Regions from separate parts of the Homo sapiens genome. Here region 1 is linked to region 2. The links are contacts of gene promoters, found by promoter capture Hi-C in human tissues and cell types (Jung and others, 2019). All regions are on one chromosome and are shown on one strand. Each heading gives the region's core, a stretch centred on a gene start or on the middle of the fragment in contact. The rest is flanking DNA. Distances are from core to core; before and after follow the strand shown. Region 1 holds the start of ZNF679 (zinc finger protein 679). Region 2 overlaps ZNF679 (zinc finger protein 679).

Region 1 (4,560 bases), core at 1,588-4,087, 38 kb after region 2:
TGCCTGGTCCCTGCCCATATGTGAGATTGTGACATACACTTAAGCCCAACTCACAGGCATAATGATGACTCTCTTACCTGGACCAAGACAATAGAAAAGATTTTGACTCTTCCAAATAGTCTTATGGTAATAGGCAATCTACTGGGTCTTTTACTTGTAGTAAGGTCAGAGATTACAACACTCATATGCATATTTTATAAAGTTCCTGAGTGGCACAGAGAGTGTCATAACAGGGCTCAGCACACAGATGGGACTGTGACTCTCATAGGCACGGCCAACAGTCAGGATTGTCACTTTGCCACATGGACACAGCCCAGTCACTGCTGAGCTTCTGAATCTTCTGCTCAGAGACAGTCAAAAGTTGGAACTGTGACTCTTATATGTGAATCTGTTCCACAGAAAAAGATGATGACTTTCATATATTCAGCACACGTGTGAGGCTGTTACTATTCTACCAGGAAAAGGTCTGCAGGGGTCTTGGGGCTCTCATGCAGGAATCCAGATCACCACTGAGATTCTGACTTGCAAACTTGTACCCAACTCTCAAGTGTTTACTCCCATACCTGGTGTTGGGACCAATGTGAGATTGTGAATCTAATCTCTGGACATTCCTGCAGGTGTGATTGTGACATATACCTTGGCCCAGCTCATGATATTTGATTATTTTGCCTGGATAAAACACACGAGACAGTGACATATATTTGGGCTACACCTTGGTGATATTACTCTCCTGTTCTTGGCCCTTTTCTTTTTCTTTTTTTTTTTTTTTTTGAGACGGAGTCTCGCTCTGTCGCCCAGGCCAGACTGCGGACTGCAGTGGCGCAATCTCGGCTCACTGCAAGCTCCGCTTCCCGGGTTCACGCCATTCTCCTGCCTCAGCCTCCCCAGTAGCTGGGACTACAGGCGCCCGCCACCGCGCCCGGCTAATTTTTTGTATTTTTAGTAGAGACGGGGTTTCACCTTGTTAGCCAGGATGGTCTCGATCTCCTGACCTCATGATCCACCCGCCTCGGCCTCCCAAAGTGCTGGGATTACAGGCGTGAGCCACCGCGCCCGGCCTCTTGGCCCTTTTCTTAGGGGAAATTTGGACATATCTCTGGGTATATCACCTGGGTTATGTTACCATCTTTTTCTGCCTGAGTGTGGCCCACAGGGGAAATCATAGTATATTTTTAGACCCATCACCTAGGTGATGTTACTCTTCCCTTCTGCCTGGGTCCTGCTTCCAGTAAGAATTGTAACATATCGCTGGATCCTGCACCCAAATGATGTTACCCTCCTGCCTGGGCCATGCCGACAGTGGGAATTGTGACATTTCTGGGCCCAACATTTAAGCGATGTGACTATCCTCTTATGTTCGCAGCATGTGTTGTAACATATCACTAAGCCCAGAACTCAGGTGATGTGGCTTTCCTGCCATGGCACTGCACACAAGGAGAATGCTGACATATCCCTGGCCCTGAATTCAGATGATATGACTGTTTTACCTGATCCACACTCTGAAGTGAAATTGTTACATATACCCAGGCCCAGTTAGCAGACATGATGATGACTCTCATACATAGACCCAGCAAATACAACAGATTTTTTACTCCCCTGGCTAGATTTAGGGACACAGGTAAGGGTCTGCATTTCCTTATAAAAGGTCACAGGAAATATGACATAAATATTTTATAAAGTCCATGAGTTTTATGAGCTGTGTCATAATGCAGTCCAACAAGCAGGAGAGATTGTGACTCTCATAGGCACATCCAGCCAACAATGGGATTATCACTCTTAAACCTAGACACAGCCCACTGGTGAGGTTATAAATCTCACATATGGATGCAGACCACAGTTGGAATCGTGACTGTCGTATGTGGATGTGGCCACAGGTCAAAGGGGAAGTCATTTCTTGACTAACTCACAGGCACAGTGTTGTCTCTTATACTTGGACCAAGCTAATAGAAGAGACGTTGTCTCACTGTTACGCTTGGGAAAATGGGGATGGTTCTGGGTTTTCTAACTGTACAAAGGTCACAAAAAAATCACAACACTCATGCGTACAGTATAATGCCCTATTATACTGTACGCAACTTTGTATTGGGCTGTGTTGACACTCTCTGTAATACTGTAATACCTGACCACAGGTAAGATTCTGACTCATTTCTGGGCCCAGCTCACAAACATGGTGATGACTCTCATACCTGGACCCAGGCAAGAGAAAATGTGTTAACTTCTGCCTGGGCTTAGGGTAACGGGTAAGATCTTGGATCCATAAAAACATAAAGTTCTCAGAGCAGAATTCCACTCTCAAGCATGTTGTGTGAAGATCTCAAATGGTACAAAGAGTGTCATAACAGAGCCAAAAACATAGAGGAAATTGTGAATCTCCTATGCATACCTAGCCAACAATAAGGATGGTCACTCTCCCATATGGACACAGCTCACTGTTGAGGTTCTGAATCTCATGCCCAGAGGCAATGAAAAGTTGAAAGTTTGACTCACATACATGCATCTGATCAACAGGTAGGATAGTGACTCTGAGACCAAGATTCAGCACCCTGGTGAGGCTGTGCCTATCTTATGAGGACTCTGTTTGCAGGTGGAGATGGAGCTCTCGTGCACGGATCCTGTCCAGTGTTAAGACTGTGTCTCGTGTATTTGGATGCAACTCACCAGAAGTGTAGACTCTCAGACCTAAAGCTGGGAAATACGTAGAATTGTGAAATTTATTCCTGGTCCTTCCCGCAGGTGTGATTGTGGCGTATACTTTCACACAGCACCTAATTTATTTTACTAATTTGCTTGGGCCCAGCCAACAGTTGGGAATGTGACATATACCTGGATCAAGTACCTAGGTGATATAACTCTCCAGCCCAGGCCTTACCACAGGGTACATTGTGACATATCTTTGGACTTATCACCTATGTGATGTGACTCTACTGACTTGCCTTGTCTTGGCCTCCATTGGGGATTGTGGCATATTTCTGTGCCCAGTACCTAAGTTATGTGACTCTTCTTTCCTGCTTGTGCATTTAGAAGGGATTGTGACATATTGCTGGGCCAAGAACCTAGGTGATGTGACTCTCCTGCCTTGGCCCTGCCTTCAGGAAAAATTGTGACATGACTCTGGGTTTATTACCTAGGTGATATGACTTCCATTTCCTGTGTGGGCAAGGCCAAAGGGGTCACTGTGACATACCTCTGGACACCTCACAGAAGTGGTATAACTTTTCTCTCATTCCAGGACCCTGGTCTCAGTAGAAATTGTGAAATCTCTCTGGGCCCATAACCTAGGTAATGTGACTCTCCTGTCCTGCCTGGACCCTGCTTACAGGCAAGTTCATGACATTTGGCTGGGTCCATCACCTAGGTAATGTGACTCTGCTTTTCTTCCTGTGCCCTGCCACCAGTGAAGATTTTGACAAATTTCTGGGCCAATCAGCTGTGTGATATGACTCTGTGCTCTTTCCTGGGCCCTGTTAACAGGGAGCATTGTGACATTGCCAGGCTCAGCAGCTAGGTAATGTGATTTTTCTTGCTCTCTGGGCCCTACTTACAGAAGGGATTGTGACATACTGCTGAGCCAAGAACTCAGATGATGTGACTCTCCTGCCTGTGCCCTGCCTACAGTGGGCATTGTGACATATCACTGGATCTAGCACCCAGGTGATGTGATTCTCCTGTTTTGTTCTTGCCGGCAGGTGAAATTGTGGCATATACCTGGGCCCAGCTCACAACCACAATGATGACTCTCTTACCTGGACACAGACAGTGGGAGATATTTTGACTTTTGTAGCCAGGCTTAGGCCATAGGTAATGTCCTGGGTCTCCTACTTGTATAAAGTTCACAGAACATTACAACACTCAGGACTATCATAGGAAGCCCTAGAGTGATAGAGGTGATAACAAGGCCTAGCTAACAGCTGAGATTGTGACTCTTGTATGCAGACCCAGCCGACAGACTCTTCCTCATTCTTACAGATAAACAGAGCCTACGAATGAGGCACTTAATCTCACACATAAAAACAGTTGCAAGTTGGATTTATTACTCTCATATGTGGATCTGGTTTCCAGGTGGTTTGGTGACTCTCGAACCATGATTCGGCAGACCTGTGAGGCTGTGAGTTCCCTATTGGAACACAATCTGCAGGTGAGATTGGGGCTGTTGTGCATGCATTTTGTGCATTGTTGAGACTGTATCTCCTTTACTTGAACCCCACTCACAAGAGGGGTTGCCTCTCATACATGAAGCCAGGACTCGTGTGAAACTGTGAAACTCATTTCTGTACATTCCCAAGTGTGTGATTGGGAAATATACCTTTGCCCAGAACCTGAGTGATCTGACTGTTTCCTAGGCCCAGCCCACAGATAAAATTGTGACATATACATGGACCACCCACCTAAGTAATGTGAAACTCCTTCCTGGGCCCTGCCTGCCAAGGGCATTTTTACATTTCATAGCAACCAGCATCAACCCAGGTCCTGTGACTCCCCTGCCTGCTCCCTGCCTACAAAAAGCATTGTGACTTATTTCTGGGTTCATTACACAGGTGATGTGACTTCTACTGCCTTGGC
Region 2 (4,492 bases), core at 800-3,299:
AATCAACATGAGGTAACTCGAGACTTGGGTTACATTATTATTTGCTTTTCAGAAAATGTATATTTTTTTTACAGAAAAAGAAGCATACCTCGGATGTAATTATAAATCTCCAAAAAAAAAAACTACTTCGTTAAAATGTATATAATGTTAGCTTTGGATCATTTTTATAACTAGCACCCTGATTTAGTGTAATGTCTGAAGTTTCAGTGCCTTCATTCTTTCTACTGTGAATTCTCAAATGTTTATATAGACTTAATTTTTGATTAAATATATTTTCCCCATTTGCTACATCTGCAAAAATATTTTTTAGTAGAAACTGGTGTTTTCTAAGCTGTAGTTTTTGAACAAATGTTCTTTCACATTCATTACATTTTCAGGCTTTCTCTCAAATATAAATTCTCTGACGTTCACCAAAGTTTGAGCATCTGCTTCAGGGTTTTCCTTTAATATAAAATGTGTACAATAAAATCTATATTACAAGTAAAGGTACTACAATCCTCTTTATGTTTGAAATGTTTGTCTTCAGAATAAACAGTCCTTACTTTAAAGGCCTATATTTTCTGAAGGTCTTTTTACAGTAATCACATGTATAATACTTTTTTTTTGAGATGGAGTCTTGCTGTGTTGCCCAGGCTGGAGTACAGTGGCCCAGTCTCGGCTCACCGCAACCTCCGCCCCCTGGGTTCAAGTAATTCTCCTGCCCCAGCTTCCTAAGTAGCTGGGATTACAGGTGCATGCCACCATGCCTGGCTAATTTTTCTATTTTTAGTAAAGATGGGGTTTCACCATGTTGGCCAGGATGGTCTTGAACTCTGGACCTCATGATCCACCTGCCTTGGCCTCCCAAAGTGCTGGGATTACAGTCATGAGCCACCACACCTGGCTTATAATGCTTTTATTAAGTATAAACTTTCTGATATTAAGATGTGAACAGATATTAATGGCTTTTCACATTCTTTGTATTTGTACAATTTTTCTCTGGTTATAAATGCTTTCTTGTGCCATAAGGTGTGAGAATTTGTTAAAAGTTTTGCCACATTTTTCATTTTTGTAGGAGTTTTCTTCAGTATAAATTATCTTACCTACCCTAATGTGTGACTACCATTTAAAGGCCTTGCCACATTTAACACATTTCTGGAGTTTCTCAACAGGATGATTTCTCTTTGTTAGAAAGTTTGAGGTGTGGTTAAATGCTGTGTTACATTTTTTATGTATGTAGAGTTTCTCTCCAGCATAAAATTTTTAATTAATAAGGATGGAGAACCAGTTAAAGGCTTTGCCACATTTTTTTTTTTTTTACAATTGCAGGGGTTGTCTCCAATATCAATTATCTTACATTTATTCAAACAAAAATTTGAGGACTTTTTAAAGACATTTCCATATTCCTTATTGTAGGGTTTCTTTTCAGTATTAATTTTCTTAATGTAGAATAAGGGTTCAAGACTAGTTAAAAGCTAAAGCTTTTAACTACATTTTTGTTTTTGTAGGGTTTCTCTCTAAAATGAATTATCTGATATTGTGTAAGGCCTGAGATGTGCTTAAAGGCTTTGTCACATTTTTTACCTTCATAGAGTCTCTCTAATATAAACTCTTTTAGGCTTTGGGAGGCTGAGAGGCAGTTAGATCACTTGAAGTCAGGAGTTCAAGACCAGCCTGGCCAACATGGTGAAACCCCATCTCTACTAAAAATACAAAATCAGCCAGTGTGGTTGCATGCACCTGTAATCCTAGCTACTCAGGAGGCTGAGGCAGGAGAATTGCTTGAACCCAAGAGGCAGAGGTTGCAGTGAGCTGAGATCATGCCACTGCACTCCAGCCTGGGTGACAAAGTGAGACTTCATCTCAAAAATTTTTTGTTCTCAAATAAATTCTCTTAGGTTCCTTAAGGTTTGAGGGCTGCTTAAAGGCTTTGTTACTTTTTTTTACATTTATAAGACTTTTGTTCAATATGAATTATCTTATGTACAATAAAGGTTTGGAACTGGTTAAAGGCTTGGCCACATTCTTTACACTTGTAGTGATTTTTTCAAGTATAAATTATTTTATGTATTATAAGGTCTGAAGGCTGGACTTTATCACATTATTCACATTTGTAGGGTTTCTCTCCAGTATGCATACTCTTATGATTAGCAAGACTTGAGGACCACTTAAAAGCTTTGTCACATTCTTCACATTTGTAGGGTTCCTCTCCAGTATGAATCCTCTTATGAGTATTAAGAGTTGAGGAGAAGGCAAAGGCTTTCCCACATTCTTTACATTTGTAGGGTTTCTCTCCAGTATGAATTATCTTATGTTTCTTAAGGGTTGAGGAGCAGTTAAAGGCTTTGCCACATTCTTCACATGTGTAGGGTTTCTCTCCAGTATGAATTCTCTTGTGGTAAGTGAGGGATGAGGATAAGCTAAAGGCTTTGCCACATTCTTCACATGTGTATGGTTTCTCTCCAGTATGAATTCTCTTGTGGTTAGCAAGTGTTGAGGAGCGGCTAAAGGCTTGGCCACATTCTTCACATGTGTAGGGTTTTTCTCCAGTATGAATTCTCCTATGTTTAGTAAGGGTTGAGGACCAGGTAAAAGCTTTGCCACATTCCTCACATCTGTAGGGTTTCTCTCCAGTATGAATTCTTTTATGTTTAGAAAGGGTTGAAGAGCAGTTGAAGGGTTTGCCGCATTCTTCACATTGGTAGGAATTCTCCCTAGTATGAATTATCTGATGTTGATGTAGTTGTGAAACCATGCAAAATGATTTGCCATATTTTTTACATTTGAAATGTTTCTTTCCAGTATGTCTTGTCTTATGTCTATTGGAATTTGAAAATTTGCCGAAGACTTTGACACATTTATGAGTCTGAAATATTTTGTTTTGGGTAGTTGACAAACATTGGTTAACTTCATTACAACCTCCTTTTTGCACCTCACACTCACCCATGCTTTTACATGTTTTTACTTGTAAATTGTCATGTCCACTTTTTCCATATCTTCTTGGTATTACTTTTTGGAGTGAATCTTTTATGCCTAGCTCTGGCGGAAGGTCTTGGGTGAAATGAGAACACATAACTGAAAGACATAAAAATCACAAGTTACTTCACTTACTACACCCAGATAGATATACTTTACAAATCGAATATATAAAATTATACAAGGTACTTTAGCAAAATGGCATATCAAATTACCACAGGCCATAATTCCTTCATAGGTGTATAAATGTAACAAAAACATAGTGATCAAAATACCTTTGCTGGAAATTTATAAATAAAGTGTGTGCACCAGGTGGGCACAATACCAAGAGCCATATAGACAGAAAAGAAAAGTCTGATACATTTACCCAACACAGCCCTTCTTCATCCCCAATAGAAGAACATGGTGTCTTTAGGAGTAAACTGGCTTTTATTACAAAAGACCAGAAAAATACTGGCACCTATATCTTTATTTTTGGCTTATGGAGGCCTTTCTGTCTTCCATGATAGAAAGTGCTGAATCAAATGGTAGTATGCTTTGAAATGACACCTTTAAGTCTTTTGAGATCAAAGGTGAATGTTACAACAGCAGAAAGACTGTAGTACATGGATAGAAAATAGGTGTGGAAAGTAGCTACCTACTGGTAAGAAGAAACATGGAGAAGTCTTTTAATGGAAAAATAAATACAAAATTGCAGACAAGACACATCCTGAGAACATGTTTGAGAGACTCTGTGAATCTCTAGCCAAGAAAGAAAATTGGTTTCAGGCTATGCCAAGAAAGAGCTGCATTATAAAGATCGTGAAAGGTAGTTTTATGTTAATGTTTAAATCTCAACCAAAGATTACAATGTATACAAAACATGAAGACAACATGGTCTAATCAAAAAAATCAAAAATTTTGAAAAAGCAACTACAAAAATAAAGAGGCATATATTAATTTTAAAAACATAAGATAATCCATATTATGCTCAGTGAGAAAAATGGAAAACCAGACACCTAAATAAAATTAGAAAAATAAGAATATCAACAATAGGCTTGGAATAATAAAAACAAAACAATCATGGAATTAAAAAAGAATAAGTGAAAAAATTTAGAAGTAAGAAAAAAATAATGTAAGAAATGAAGAAGCTAAACAAACTAGGATATACACAAAAAGATCCATAACACATATTTAAACAAAGTTTCAAAAGTCACTAGCCAGAAGACAATCTTGGGAGCTATAAGATAAAAGTGAGGTATTATTTATAAGCATAGTCCTCTGACACATTTGACAACAGAAAGCTTGCAGGTCAGAAAAGAACTGTGTACAATGGTCAAAGTGCTGAAAAAAAATCTTCATGGTGAGAATAATAAATGCAGCAAAAATATACTACAAAATAAAGAAAAAATAAAGATCTTCCAGAATAAACACATGCTGGAAAAGCATATAAGCACTGCATGTGCCCTAAATAAAATGCTGAAAAGAGGTCCTGCCGCTTAAAATAACATGATGAAAAAAATACATAATCATATGAAAATATATAACTTTCTGAAAA

What was found. The method cuts DNA at HindIII sites, captures the fragments that hold promoters and counts their contacts. A contact is called where the count stands out against the background at its distance.
Region 1: the fragment with the promoter of ZNF679 here is called in contact with a fragment that was not itself captured in region 2 in 3 of the 25 tissues and cell types used here (pancreas, small bowel and stomach).

Annotation. Positions count from the first base shown.
Region 1 is chr7:64,226,751-64,231,310 of GRCh38, reverse strand. It overlaps ZNF679 (zinc finger protein 679), which reads right to left and starts at 2,837. Exons shown (of 5, transcript NM_153363.3): 1 at 2,659-2,837. It overlaps LOC105375319 (a long non-coding RNA gene), which reads left to right and starts at 3,690. Exons shown (of 4, transcript XR_927576.1): 1 at 3,690-3,798; 2 at 4,060-4,135. The HindIII fragment of the contact is 35,378 bases long and covers 1-4,560 here.
Region 2 is chr7:64,264,458-64,268,949 of GRCh38, reverse strand. ZNF679 (zinc finger protein 679) reads right to left here. Exons shown (of 5, transcript NM_153363.3): 5 at 2,019-3,054. The coding sequence ends at 2,081. Among named protein-coding and RNA genes, the nearest start is that of ZNF679, 38 kb to the right of the region's middle. The HindIII fragment of the contact is 5,347 bases long and covers 1-4,492 here.